5 separate regions of the Homo sapiens genome follow, and regions 1, 3, 4 and 5 are each linked to region 2. The links are contacts of gene promoters, found by promoter capture Hi-C in blood cells and fetal thymus (Javierre and others, 2016). All regions are on one chromosome and are shown on one strand. Each heading gives the region's core, a stretch centred on a gene start or on the middle of the fragment in contact. The rest is flanking DNA. Distances are from core to core; before and after follow the strand shown. Region 1 holds the start of CAVIN3 (caveolae associated protein 3). Region 2 holds the start of TRIM22 (tripartite motif containing 22). Region 3 overlaps APBB1 (amyloid beta precursor protein binding family B member 1). Region 4 overlaps TPP1 (tripeptidyl peptidase 1). Region 5 holds the start of APBB1 (amyloid beta precursor protein binding family B member 1).

Region 1 (2,700 bases), core at 201-2,700, 630 kb before region 2:
GACACAAGTTTCTTCCACAGTTGTCAACAAGTGGCCCTCACAGGTTCAGTGAGAAGAGGAAGAGGGAGAGAGATCATCAGGATTAATGGATTACTTGCATTTGTGAGACGGTTTGCCAAGTATTGCTACAAACAAGGCACGGGATTTTCTTTTTTCTTTTCTTTTTTTTTTGAGATGGAGTCTTGCTCTGTCCTCCAGGCTGTAGTGCAGTGGAGCAATCTTGGTTTACTGCATTCTCTGCCTCCCAGGTTCAAACGATTCTTCTGCCTCAGCCCTCCCGAGTAGCTGGGATTACAGGCGTGTGTCACAACGCCCTGCTAATTTTTGTATTTTTAGTAGAGACGGGGTTTTGCCATGTTGCCCAGGCTGGTCTGGAACTCCCTGCCTCACGTGATCCTCCCCCCTCGGCCTCCCAAAGTGGTGGGATTACAAGCATGAGCCACCGCGCCCGGCTAAGGCATGGGATGTTTCGAACTGCTGACATTAGAAATTCACAATCCACATCATTAACTGGATCCTCCATGCCCACTCTCTCCCTCTCTGCAGCAGCAATTTCAAATCTTTACTCTCCGCAGTTCCACAGAACACAAGAAACAAACAAACAAGCAAAAAAAGTCAGGCAGGAGCCCAAGTAACCTCTATCAAAGCAAAGACCAGTGCCTAGTCTAACGCTTTTAAGGATTTTAAAAGAGGTGAAGGTGTCCTGCTTATCCTCCAAGCTTGGGTGCTGGGGCCGGGGCGGCTGAGATTTACCAGTGAAACCCAAAGAAAGAGAGGGCAGAAAACTAGAGAAAAGAAACCAGATAATGCTACCCAAGAGGACGAAATAAAGAAGCAGGAAACGAAGCCTGAGGCTAAACCCTGGAGATGACTATTAGGAAAACACCAGAGGATGCCCCGCCCGCCAGCCCACAATGAGCAGCCTGTCCAAGTCACAAAGCGGGGCCTCGGGCCTTGACAGTTCGCGATCTGTAAGCAGAATGTTCCAGGGCCTCCCTGTCGCCTGCATCCAGCCTGGGGGCAATCTTCACTGGTGTGGGAGGCCGAAAGTGGACGGCGACGGAGGCCCCTCTGGTTATCTCTTTGCCGTGCCAACACAGTCTCTGCGCCCACTAAGATGCATGAAATAAAAATTTCCGTGACTCGCCCTTTGCAGTGGAGAACTGAAACAGGCACACCAGGGAATTGGAGCGGAGGAGGGTAACTCAAACTCAGAGTGAGAGGGTTTGCAGGGGGCCGATTTGGGGCCAACAGGCTTCCCAGCAGGCCCCCGGCGCGGGACAGCGGAAGGCGAAACGCTTTCAAGAGACCCCGCTGCCAACATCCCCACGCCCTCGCGCCCTCCCGCCGCCCCAGAAGGCCAACTCCGCCTGCCTGAGTCACAGCTGGAGCTGGGGAGGAGCCAGGGAAAGGAGGCCCCTGACCGTAGTGCGGCCAGCAGTTGCAGGCAGACGGAGCAGAGCGGTCAGGGATCATGAGGGAGAGTGCGTTGGAGCGGGGGCCTGTGCCCGAGGCGCCGGCGGGGGGTCCCGTGCACGCCGTGACGGTGGTGACCCTGCTGGAGAAGCTGGCCTCCATGCTGGAGACTCTGCGGGAGCGGCAGGGAGGCCTGGCTCGAAGGCAGGGAGGCCTGGCAGGGTCCGTGCGCCGCATCCAGAGCGGCCTGGGCGCTCTGAGTCGCAGCCACGACACCACCAGCAACACCTTGGCGCAGCTGCTGGCCAAGGCGGAGCGCGTGAGCTCGCACGCCAACGCCGCCCAAGAGCGCGCGGTGCGCCGCGCAGCCCAGGTGCAGCGGCTGGAGGCCAACCACGGGCTGCTGGTGGCGCGCGGGAAGCTCCACGTTCTGCTCTTCAAGGTCAGTGACCTCAAACGGTCCCCAATCCGAGGCCTTTGCCGGCCTGTGGGCCACCAGCTGGGGGCTCCCCGCTTCCATCCACCTACCACACCCACATTCCTGACCCCTCCCGCCGTCTGTTGCTGTGGAACAGACTCACAGAGCCGCACCCACTTCCCAAGACCCAGCCCCATCCCTCCCTCTCACGCCTGAGCCCCGCCTGGCCAATCCAAGCCCGCCCAGCTCTAGCTCAGGCCACGTCCGCAGAATTTGGTCTGAGTCCCAGCCAATCCCTAAAATAACGGTGGTTGAAAGGGCATTCCGTGACTGCGGGCACTATCCTCTTCTCGCCCCTCACCAGGCCTCACCTACTTTACAGCGTTTTGCAGTTCGCACGCAGCTTTCCCTCCCCTTACCTTCCCACGCCTGCCTTTCCCCCCAGACTCTGGCTGCGGAGGTAAAAGGTTTCCCTTGTGTAATTAAGGAGTGAGTTTCGGGCTGCTGGGGGTAAGGAGCTGCCAGGATCAGTGCTGTGTCCGTCACATGCAGGAGGAGGGTGAAGTCCCAGCCAGCGCTTTCCAGAAGGCACCAGAGCCCTTGGGCCCGGCGGACCAGTCCGAGCTGGGCCCAGAGCAGCTGGAGGCCGAAGTTGGAGAGAGCTCGGACGAGGAGCCGGTGGAGTCCAGGGCCCAGCGGCTGCGGCGCACCGGATTGCAGAAGGTACAGAGCCTCCGAAGGGCCCTTTCGGGCCGGAAAGGCCCTGCAGCGCCACCGCCCACCCCGGTCAAGCCGCCTCGCCTTGGGCCTGGCCGGAGCGCTGAAGCCCAGCCGGAAGCCCAGCCTGCGCTGGAGCCCACGCTGGA
Region 2 (2,700 bases), core at 76-2,575:
TACTCAGAAGAACAAGTTCCCTGTGACTGGACCTTCAGAGACAAGAGACCAAAGTGGAGCTGCAGAGATGAGCAGCAGTCTGCCCGTCCTGCGGCCTCTCTCCTCGGACTAACCAGAGGGCTGCTAATTTATCAGGAAAGCTATGGACAGCATCCAAAAAGTTACCAGAAGGCAAGTAAAAGGATAACCTTCAAAAGGGCCTTACTTCTGAAGACTGAGTACCTAAGACTCCTTCGCCTCATACCCAGATCCAGATAAGGGCTCTCATCCCTGCTGAACCTCATCATGAGGTTGCTTTATGAAAAGTGAAAACAAAGCTTCATTGCACAGGCTTCTTCGGGAGAAAGGAGGAAGGAATTTGCTGCCTCTGAATAAAAGAAAATTCTGATCCACGTTGGCAAAATGGAAAAATCAAAATGACAGAATAGGAATGTGGGGTATGATAAGGTTTCTCTTCAAATAGCCTGATCAATCCTTTATTCTTTAATTCACAGTGCCCCTCCCCACTTCACTTTTCTTCTCTTCTCTTTCCTTTCTGCTTTTGCTACATGCCTAGACATGTCACAGTACCAGGCGTTATCAGTACCAACTCACATTCCTTTCCTTATTTTGGAAGAAGATTAGTTATCTAGCTCATCACACACACCCCTTCCCCATCTCCCCTCTCTCCCTCACGTGCCCACCTTATCTAAAGAAAGTTAAAATGTTTAGCCAACTGAGTCTAGTTTAGATTGTGTGGCCGACTCCAGCCAATGGGGAAAGGGCAAAGGGGTAGGATTTGCGTCAGGAATAAAAACTTTCTTCCTCCTTTGTTCTAGTGTGCTCTCATGGCGACTGGCAAAGAAGAAGCACCCCTCTGCACAGAAATAAAATTGCTTTGCTGAGAAATCCTTTGTTTGAGTGCTCGTCTCCCTTAAGATTCTGAGCTTTATTTCCAACAAGGAAGGTGATGGAGGTACCTAGATTGAAGAAATGAATGGTCCCTCTAGGAAACAAGCAAGGCTTTTTGCTTTTGCAAACCTCTCTTCTTTAAAGGTTACCCCTCTCCCAGACTCAGTGCTTTCTTCCTCTGCCATCTCAGCAGACAGTTCACAAGCTGCCTCTTTTTGTTTATGCAGAGCAGCTTCAGAACTACAAATTAAACTCACCCAGACACAATCAATCTATTCTTCTCAAAGCCTCCCATTCTATGCTCCCACAGATTGCTCCACTCACCTTCAGTCCAAAGCAGAGGAGTCTTGAATCAGGGGAGAAGAGTGAAGGCAGGGCAGGAGCCGGTGTAAACCAGATTCACTCACCAAGCCAGAGGGCTGGTCTCCACAAATGAGTTTCCCCACAGGAGCTGAGTGAGAAACGAAAGTTAAATTCTCAGAAGTGAAAGAAAACAAAGGAAGCTGAACAAGAACTTACATAACAATAAACCCTGGGGAAAGTAATGCTACATTATGTTCTAGCATCTGCTGTACTGGCAAGGCACTCAGTCACTACTTCCTTATTCTTACTGTGGTTTACTCAAGCAAGAATATTTGAATAAAAAGAATGTGAATTACAGTTATACAGCTTGCCTGAATACTTAGAATTCCAATGCAGTCCTATAATTATTAGTCGAATTTATCTTATATTTAAGACCTAAGCCAGGAAAATAAAGATCCAGAGACTTGGGACCTAGCTTCTTGAAATGCAGTCTGACGAGGAAGATACTCAGTTATAAAGCTCTACAAATTTGGGCTGACAAGATGAGTATTAGCAGCTGACATTGTGAATGGTAAAAAAATTATTTTTATAAATAAAAGGATCTTTAGTGTGAGCCCATTGAAAAAAATGTTCTCAAAATGTCATTAAATCTTAAGAGTCCATCAATTAATTATCACTTCCTGCTCCTAATCCAGACAGACCAGATGAGGATGGATTCCAGAGAGTAATAGAGGTAAAACTGTGTCAGTGTCATGTTACCCAGCCACTGAGGCAGGTGAGAACATGGAAGTTAACAGATGATGCTGTTTAATTATAATCATTCATTGAGTTACTCTCATGCCTTCATAATTTTTCCACTTTTCCCTGCTTCTCTAAGAAAAGTTTGGTCATTTTTACACAATCAATTAAAAAGCAGCACTGAAACATGTTATACGTCATGCACATACTTCTGTACCCTGTTGTCTATTGTATTCTTGTTTAACTGCATGTGCCAGATAATGCCATCAAAAACTGATGGAGGCCTGTGGTGTCTCATGCCTGTAATCCCAGCACTCTGGGAGGCCCAGGTGGGTGGATCACTTGAGTCCAGGACTTCAACACCAGCCTGGGCAACATGGTGAAATCCCATCTCTAAGAAAAATTAAAAAAAAAAAAATAGCTGGGTGTGGTGATGTGCACCTGTAGTCCCAGCTACTCAGGAAACTGAGATGGGAGGATGGCTTGAGCCCAGGAGGTGGAGGTTGCATTGAGCCAAGATTGCGTCATTGCACCATAGCACTGCAGCCTGGGTGACATAGTAAGACCCTGTCTCTACAAAAAACAAACAAACAAACACCACACAACACATACACACACACACCCAAAAAAAAAGAAAAAAAAAGGCAACTCATGGAGCTTCCATAACATGGATCCCTGACTGACACTATGGAGCATGGCCATCTTCATACTTTAATCAATGATACACATGTAGGATGACTGAGAAATCAATGTTTATTATTTCAATAA
Region 3 (2,700 bases), core at 85-2,584, 710 kb before region 2:
TGTCTGGAAGGGGCCTTGGGACAGCTCCATTTATGGGAGCCCTGTGCCAAGTATTACCATCTGCCTTCAGCCCAGAGCCGTTGCCCCAAGAGGAGGAGAAGCTTCCCCCACGGAATACCAACCCAGGGATCAAGGTTTGTTCAAGACTGACACCCATTCTGAGTCTGGGGCCCTCTTATTTGTCAGACAGCCCCTAATGTTGTGCTCTGAGGGGTCTCAGCGCAGTTCCCCAGGTCCTGAGTTAGGAGTTCTTCCAGTCTCAGCACAGAGCCCTGTGTCTGAGCTGGAGGCACTTCAGTTTTTAAATCAACCAGCCCAACAGCCAGGTTGGGGGCCCTTGTAGTCTTAGTTCAGGTGCTTTTTTGTACTAGCTGGGGTCTCATCTGACATCTCCCTCACCCTAACCACATCCCCCTCTCCCTAACCACATCCTGTTTGGGGAGCTTCTCCGTCTTAGTTCAGAACACCCTGCCTCCTGCCACACTCTGTAGTCAGGAACTCTCCAGTTTTGACTCAGATCCTCTACCTCCTGCCCCTCTTCTGTGTCTGGCAGTGTTTCGCCGTGCGCTCCCTAGGCTGGGTAGAGATGACCGAGGAGGAGCTGGCCCCTGGACGCAGCAGTGTGGCAGTCAACAATTGCATCCGTCAGCTCTCTTACCACAAAAACAACCTGCATGACCCCATGTCTGGGGGCTGGGGGGAAGTAAGGACCTGAGCCGGGGGTAGGGGGTGGTACTGTGAGAGTGTGAAGGGAATTATGAGAGATGGGAGGTCTGACCTGCCCACAAGCAGGCTGGGGAAGGGGGATATTGGCCCATCCTAAGTGGCAGCCCTGTGGGATGGATGAGCGACCCCAGGCCAGGACCTTGGGAGATAGTCGCCTAACAACGGTGGAGTCAATGTGAGAGATGACACGTGACCTCCACTAGAGTGAGGCCTGCAGGGCGGGCGGTCTGACACCAAAGCAGGGGCCCCAGAGCTGTGGCTAACATCCCCTGAGCTGCAGGGGTCAGAGATCAGCCACCATCCTGGCTGGAGTCCCACTGAGTGCCTGCTTCTGGTCCTGCAGGGAAAGGATCTGCTACTGCAGCTGGAGGATGAGACACTAAAGCTAGTGGAGCCACAGAGCCAGGCACTGCTGCACGCCCAACCCATCATCAGCATCCGCGTGTGGGGCGTCGGGCGGGACAGTGGAAGGTGGGAATAGGGCTTGGGATTCGAGGGTGGGAGTTCATCCAGCATCAGAGTCCTCCTCTCTAACTCTGTTATTTGCCTCTCTTGTGCTGCTGGACCCAGAGAGAGGTACTATGCCTATTTTCCCCCTCCTACACCTGGACCAGATGCCTGGAAGCACCCAAGCTCCCCTCTTCTGCCCTGCCCCTTCCCACCCGCTATGCTCCACCATTACCCTCCACCTCAGCATGCTTGCCTGTCTACCCCTCCCCCCCAAGAAGGCAGCACCTATGGGGGACCAGCTGTGGGCAGAAGCCCTGGAGGAGCTGTGATGGGCAGGGAGGACGTGGGTGGGGTGGGGACCAGGCTCAGCACTGGATGGTACTGGGAGACACTGAGGTGCCCCTTCCCCAACAGGGACTTTGCCTACGTAGCTCGTGATAAGCTGACCCAGATGCTCAAGTGCCACGTGTTTCGCTGTGAGGCACCTGCCAAGAACATCGCCACCAGCCTGCATGAGATCTGCTCTAAGGCACGGCCCCCTCCACTCCCTGGACTAGTTGCCACCTTTGCTCTACAAGGGTGTGGGTGGGGTCACTGAGTGCTGTAGGGGGGCCCCAGGGCAATGAGGCTCTAATAGATTCTCCCTGGCTCCTCGCCTCCCTTCCTTCCTCAGATCATGGCCGAACGGCGTAATGCCCGCTGCTTGGTAAATGGACTCTCCCTGGACCACTCTAAACTTGTGGATGTCCCTTTCCAAGGTCAGTGTCAAAACCCCTCCAGGTCCAGCTCAGCTTTGTTGGCAAAGGTGGGTGACCCAAGGAAAGGCATGAGCTCCTGGACAGCGCTGATAGAAAAATGAACACATGAAGACTGAATACTCCAATACGTGGAGGGACTCCGGTTAAAGGGAGGCAGGGGACGAGATGAAAGTAGGGCCTCGGCTGGGCAAGTGTCCAGCTTATGCCCTGCTGGTGGGGCTGCGGGTGAGCAAGGTCTGCCACCATGATCAACCTTCTCTTCTTTCCCATAGTGGAATTCCCAGCGCCTAAGAATGAGTTGGTCCAGAAGTTCCAAGTCTATTACCTGGGGAATGTACCTGTTGCTAAACCTGTTGGTATGTGTGTCCTTCTATACCCAGGGGCTGCTACCTTGATCCTAAAACTCTGCCCCTACCCTCTGCCTTCCAATACTTCTTCTACCAGACCTTCCTCATGCTTGGTGTCTCCCTACCCTTTAAAATGCATCCCACCTCCCCATACTTCTGTCCTAGCTCTATTTCCTGTCCTGCCTATAGCAGCAGTCAGCACGCCTTCGCTGAGCATCAGCCACGTGAGTGGTGCTGAACCAGGCACAAAGGGAGACCCCACTCCTTCATCCCATGGAAAAGCTTTGGTGGGATTGGGAGGCTGATGTTAGATGACTGGAGGACACCAGACAGCAGCCTGTAGCTGGGTTTAGTGTTACAGCACCAGCTGTGGGCTGGGAGCATCTGGAGAAGGAAACAGTGAGCATAATTGTCACATA
Region 4 (2,500 bases), core at 1-2,500, 930 kb before region 2:
AGAGGCTGGGGACGGGGCAGTGTGACACTAGTGTGCATGGCAGGAAACAGTGACTCACCATCGTGTTAAGCTTAAAATCAACAAGTATGCAAATTTGAGCTAAACTGAATAACTGGTACCGAAAGATTTGAAAACATTTACCGGACATAAGCTTAAAATTAAAATGGAAAATTTATATGTATTAACCTCATTCATTTTCATGATCATGGCAATACATGCTGTGGTGCGACATTTGCAACTTACTGGCCTTTAGGGTAAATCCATATTATTGGCCATGGCATTTCAAGTCTCTCCAGCCTTTTCTTCCTCTGCTTCCCAAGTACACCCTACACCTGCACACATAGCCCTCCTTTACCCTGTTCCAGGCTTTGGGAAGTCCTGATGTCTCATAGTTGAGGTCCAAAAGGGGGAGTTTGGGAAAGCAATGAATGAGGGCAAGTGCCTCTTCTGAATCCCTGCAGGAAAATACCTGACCCTAGAGAATGTGGCTGATCTGGTGAGGCCATCCCCACTGACCCTCCACACGGTGCAAAAATGGCTCTTGGCAGCCGGAGCCCAGAAGTGCCATTCTGTGATCACACAGGACTTTCTGACTTGCTGGCTGAGCATCCGGTGAGAGGAAATGATTGCTCCATGGAGGGCACCAGTCATCCCATCAGTGAGATGGATGGGAGGGAGTTGAGAGCTTGCTGGGGCTTGTGGGTGGGAGCTAATGCATGGGGAGACAGTGACTGACTGCCCAGGGATGCTCAGAGGTAGCTTCTTCTGTTCCGTTTTGAGCTTTCTGACCTCTGTTCTCTGACCTCCAGACAAGCAGAGCTGCTGCTCCCTGGGGCTGAGTTTCATCACTATGTGGGAGGACCTACGGAAACCCATGTTGTAAGGTCCCCACATCCCTACCAGCTTCCACAGGCCTTGGCCCCCCATGTGGACTTTGGTAACACCTATGGGGTGAATGGGGGTTGGGGCACACAGATCCAGGGGCTGAGGAAGTTTAGATGCCATTGGGGACTGGGGGTGGGGTGAGTTGTAAGGTGGGCATTACAGTCTATAAGATCTCCTCAAGCCTGACTTCTCCCTACAGTGGGGGGACTGCACCGTTTTCCCCCAACATCATCCCTGAGGCAACGTCCTGAGCCGCAGGTGACAGGGACTGTAGGCCTGCATCTGGGGGTAACCCCCTCTGTGATCCGTAAGCGATACAACTTGACCTCACAAGACGTGGGCTCTGGCACCAGCAATAACAGCCAAGCCTGTGCCCAGGTGAGCCAAGCAAAGAGCCCCAGGGTCCTCATAGCCTCCCCACAGTGTCCTCAATTCCTTACCACCCTGGGACTCACCCTCGGACCCACGATCTCTGCTCTGACTCCCTCCATAGTTCCTGGAGCAGTATTTCCATGACTCAGACCTGGCTCAGTTCATGCGCCTCTTCGGTGGCAACTTTGCACATCAGGCATCAGTAGCCCGTGTGGTTGGACAACAGGGCCGGGGCCGGGCCGGGATTGAGGCCAGTCTAGATGTGCAGTACCTGATGAGTGCTGGTGCCAACATCTCCACCTGGGTCTACAGTAGCCCTGGTACTACCAAGAGGACTGGACAGTGGGGAAGGGGGTGGGAGATGGGTGTTGATCCCTGCTCCCTCAAGGGAATGCTATAAGCTGGAGAGAGATCCTGACAACCCCCAGTGACTATCTTTGTGCCCATCCCTCAAAAAAAAAAAAAAAAAAAATCCAGGCCGGCATGAGGGACAGGAGCCCTTCCTGCAGTGGCTCATGCTGCTCAGTAATGAGTCAGCCCTGCCACATGTGCATACTGTGAGCTATGGAGATGATGAGGACTCCCTCAGCAGCGCCTACATCCAGCGGGTCAACACTGAGCTCATGAAGGCTGCCGCTCGGGGTCTCACCCTGCTCTTCGCCTCAGGTGACCTCCTACCCTAAACTTAGACAATGCTTACACCTCTGCAGCCTGGGAGCTTTGACTCCACAGTGATCCCTGAGCCTGGTCTCTGACTCATAATCTGAACTCAGACCTTCCAGTAGGGACCACTGACCTGACCTCTACACTCTGACCTCCTACAGTAACAAATTTCCCCTCTGACATCCGAACCCACATACTAAGCCCTAACCAATTAATATGAATGCTACACTTGGTCTCTCTCAGGTGACAGTGGGGCCGGGTGTTGGTCTGTCTCTGGAAGACACCAGTTCCGCCCTACCTTCCCTGCCTCCAGGTAAGTACTCTAGCCTACCACTCAGGTATAACCACCACCTTTCACTTGTGATCTCATGATGTAGAACCTTTGTCTTGACCCCACCATGTGCTCCTGTGGTTCAGCCTTAAGCTTTGCCTGCCCTGGTTGCTGTACTCCTGTCTCTTCTTCCTGCAGGTCCCAGGCCCCAAATCTCTTGTGTGGGATACAGCTCCCATTGTTCCTTTTCGTCAGTTCCCAGGCATTTTAGTGGAAGATTTGGTGGGTGTTCTGTAGAGAAAAGTGTGC
Region 5 (2,700 bases), core at 190-2,689, 730 kb before region 2:
AAATAAAAGTATATTCAAAGATGACTTTGAAGCTTCTGGCTTGGGAAGCCAGTAGTTGGTGTCATTCATTGGAATGGATGGAATGGAGTTGTGTCCAGTGTGGGATGTGTGTTGTGTTGTGTGTGTTGAAGAGGGTTCTTTTTCACCCCAGTGAAACTCCTTAAAAGACTAATAAAGGGGGATGAAACAATAAATTGAGGCTGGACACTGTGTCTGACGCCTGTAATCTCAGCACTTTGGGAGGCCGAGGTGGGAGGATCGCTTGAACACAGGAGTTCCAGACCAGCCTGGGGAACACAGTGAGACCCCCTCTCTACTAAAATACAAAAAGCCAGGCGCGGTGGCACATGTCTGTGGCCCAGGTACTCCGGGGGCTGAGGCGGGAGGAATCTGAGCCCTGGAGGCTGAGGCTTCAGAGAGCCATGATCTTGCCCCTGGGTGACAGAGTGAGACCCTGCCTTGAAAGAAAGAACGAACTCAGATTTGGATATCTTTAGTTTTAGGCACCTGAGAGGGATTAGCATGTAGAGGCTTTCTGGATGGTAATATAACCTCTCATTATCCTTGATGGCCTCTGGGTCACTGATCTGACCATTGGGATGTATCCCACTATCCAGGGAGGGTCTGTAGTAAGTATTGCACCCCACCATCTTCCTTACATCTTTACACTTTTCATTCACAATATCCCCTTCCTTGTGAATTTCTACCGGGGAGCAATGTATTCTTGACATTTTCCAGGCCTTGATGTCAGCTTTATGCTCAGCAGCAGAGGTATTTCAGTGTCAAGAAACATCGGAGTTCCAGTCTAAATTCATCACTAACTGTGACTGCGGGCAAGTCGCTTTACCTCTCTTAATCTTAGCCTCAGCCTCTGAAAAATGAGGATAATAATTCTGGTGATTTTACAGAGCTGATGTGAAGATTAATGCGCGTTAACGGTTTAATAGAGAGCCCGGCACGGTGTAAGTGGTCAATAAATACGAGCTATTATTATGAGCAACGCTGTGTCCTCAGAGCCTCCCCACCAGGACGTCAGGGAGCGGTGCAGCAGGAGCGGCGCAGAGTGCCTCCCGGGAATCCTTCCCCGCGCGGCCGCGGCGCCGCACAGCCGCCGCCATTCGGGCTCCAGCCCCGTCCGCGCGTCTCCCGGCGTGGGTGCGGGACCAGGGCGCTGCGGGGCGCGCAGGGTGAGTCTGTGGAATAGTAGTGGAGGACGGCGCCGCGCTAGGCGGGGGTCCCAGGGAGTCGGCTGCAGGGGTGTCTGCTGGGAGGGCTGGACCGCGGGGCTCACCGAGGTCCGAGGGCCGCCCGCAGGGTGAGGCCCCCAAGAAGCTGCGGCAAGTGCCGCGCCCGCCGAGCTCGCTCCCGCGCCCGCCCCAAGATGGCGCCCCTCCCCCTCCCCTTGCGCGCGCCTCCGCCGCTCGGGGCGCGGCCCCGCGGCCCGCGCGCTCCTGGGCGGGGGATGTTGTGATGGAGAAGCCGCGGCGGAGCCCGAACCCCGCAGCCTGAGCCACCTCCGTCATCTGGGCCCGGGGCCTCACCGCGCAGGTAGGAGGTGTCCCTGCCCCGGCCCAGCCCCGGTGGCTGCGTCCCGATCACCAGCGGCCGGCGGACCCTGTAGCCCCTACCCTGCGGCAGCCCGGGTCCCCCGGCCGGCCCCATCCCCCATCCCCGGGTCGCCCTTCCACCGCGCGCCCGCAGACCGTCCTCTCATACCCACCATCGCAGGGTCCACTCGGGCCCTCACACCGTCCCTTCCGCTGCCCTTTACCTCCTGCCCCTCGGGGTGACTAGGGGCGGGTATGGAGGACGCGAAGCGAGGGGCAGTGGGTGTTGGGGGAGGGGAGGCCCAGGTCCGGGAAGGGGACGTGGGGTGGGGTGGGCTGGCAGGCCGCGCCGATTCCAGCAGGGGTCCCAGGCCCTGGATCTGTCAAGCCGCATTCTGTTGCCCTCAGCGACCGAGGGGTGTGCCCTGGGGCGGCTGTGTCCCCAGCTCAGCCAGGAGGCCTAGCACTGCCAAGAACACTGATTAGAAGCAGTTTTCCCACTGCCAATTCCTAACCTGTTTTGTATCGGCCTGTGTATCTCTTGCATTCTGAGCCCCTCTAGCTATAGTCCCAGCTCTCTCCGCCCTTCAGAGTCAACGCTTGCTGTCTTCATTTCCTTACTTCCCATTCATTCTTAAAAGCACTCCACTCTGTGTCCCTGACACCCACTGAAACTGTCTAGGCCAAGGTCACCGGAGACCTCCTTGTGGAGAACTCCAGTGGACACTGTTATCTCCTTTACCTTTGAGTAGTATTCGGTGGGGTATGTCAACTCACTCTCCTTGAAGCATTTTCCTGCTTTCTGCCCTACAGCATTGTCTGCTCTTCTCAATCTCATTTGCTTCCTCTCCTCCTCTCTTTAGATGCTGGTGAGGCTCTTGGCTCTGTCCCGAGCTGTCTTCTCTCAGTATCTGTTCTTTCTCCCCAGATATTTTATCTACTCCCAAAGCTTCAAATTTCATATATATGCTAATGATTCCCAAATTTATATATCCAGCCCAGACTTCTTTCCTGAAATCCAGACTCATATGTCCAGCTGCTCTCTTGACATCTCCTTGAAAGACAAACAGGAGTTCCAAACCTATAGATTCCAAGCTAAATTATCTTCTGTGGTTTTCTCTGTACCCCACTTCCAAATCTGTTCTTCCTTCGA

What was found. The method cuts DNA at HindIII sites, captures the fragments that hold promoters and counts their contacts. A CHiCAGO score of 5 or more calls a contact.
Region 1: a contact is called between the fragment with the promoter of CAVIN3 here and the fragment with the promoter of TRIM22 in region 2, in 4 of 17 cell types (M1 macrophages, M0 macrophages, endothelial precursors and 1 more). The highest score is 9.0, in M1 macrophages.
Region 3: a contact is called between a fragment that was not itself captured here and the fragment with the promoter of TRIM22 in region 2, in 1 of 17 cell types (non-activated CD4 T cells). The highest score is 5.2, in non-activated CD4 T cells.
Region 4: a contact is called between a fragment that was not itself captured here and the fragment with the promoter of TRIM22 in region 2, in 1 of 17 cell types (activated CD4 T cells). The highest score is 6.0, in activated CD4 T cells.
Region 5: a contact is called between the fragment with the promoter of APBB1 here and the fragment with the promoter of TRIM22 in region 2, in 2 of 17 cell types (non-activated CD4 T cells and activated CD4 T cells). The highest score is 7.2, in non-activated CD4 T cells.

What each region holds. Positions count from the first base shown.
Region 1 is chr11:6,319,251-6,321,950 of GRCh38, reverse strand. CAVIN3 (caveolae associated protein 3) reads left to right here and starts at 1,450. Exons shown (of 2, transcript NM_145040.3): 1 at 1,450-1,858; 2 at 2,387-2,700. The coding sequence starts at 1,475. It overlaps LOC101927825 (a long non-coding RNA gene), which reads right to left. Exons shown (of 7, transcript XR_930998.4): 1 at 2,254-2,700. RefSeq lists enhancers at 684-773, 804-863, 874-1,233, 1,444-1,493, 2,037-2,700. The HindIII fragment of the contact is 4,344 bases long and covers 722-2,700 here.
Region 2 is chr11:5,688,415-5,691,114 of GRCh38, reverse strand. TRIM22 (tripartite motif containing 22) reads right to left here and starts at 1,325. Exons shown (of 8, transcript NM_006074.5): 1 at 1,216-1,325. LOC124902620 (a long non-coding RNA gene) reads left to right here. Exons shown (of 2, transcript XR_007062561.1): 1 at 1-437; 2 at 819-888. RefSeq lists enhancers at 506-605, 21-1,220, 1,192-1,531, 653-1,645. The HindIII fragment of the contact is 4,665 bases long and covers 320-2,700 here.
Region 3 is chr11:6,400,579-6,403,278 of GRCh38, reverse strand. It overlaps APBB1 (amyloid beta precursor protein binding family B member 1), which reads left to right. Exons shown (of 15, transcript NM_001164.5): 6 at 71-134; 7 at 554-703; 8 at 1,070-1,197; 9 at 1,297-1,302; 10 at 1,591-1,705; 11 at 1,850-1,934; 12 at 2,207-2,290. Among named protein-coding and RNA genes, the nearest start is that of SMPD1, 11 kb to the right of the region's middle. The HindIII fragment of the contact is 2,462 bases long and covers 104-2,565 here.
Region 4 is chr11:6,615,738-6,618,237 of GRCh38, reverse strand. It overlaps TPP1 (tripeptidyl peptidase 1), which reads left to right. Exons shown (of 13, transcript NM_000391.4): 4 at 462-612; 5 at 810-937; 6 at 1,085-1,263; 7 at 1,379-1,577; 8 at 1,735-1,923; 9 at 2,164-2,233. Among named protein-coding and RNA genes, the nearest start is that of TPP1, 2.4 kb to the left of the region's middle. The HindIII fragment of the contact is 2,193 bases long and covers 154-2,346 here.
Region 5 is chr11:6,417,833-6,420,532 of GRCh38, reverse strand. APBB1 (amyloid beta precursor protein binding family B member 1) reads left to right here and starts at 1,439. Exons shown (of 15, transcript NM_001164.5): 1 at 1,439-1,548. RefSeq lists silencers at 1,072-1,471, 1,482-1,671. The HindIII fragment of the contact is 2,464 bases long and covers 35-2,498 here.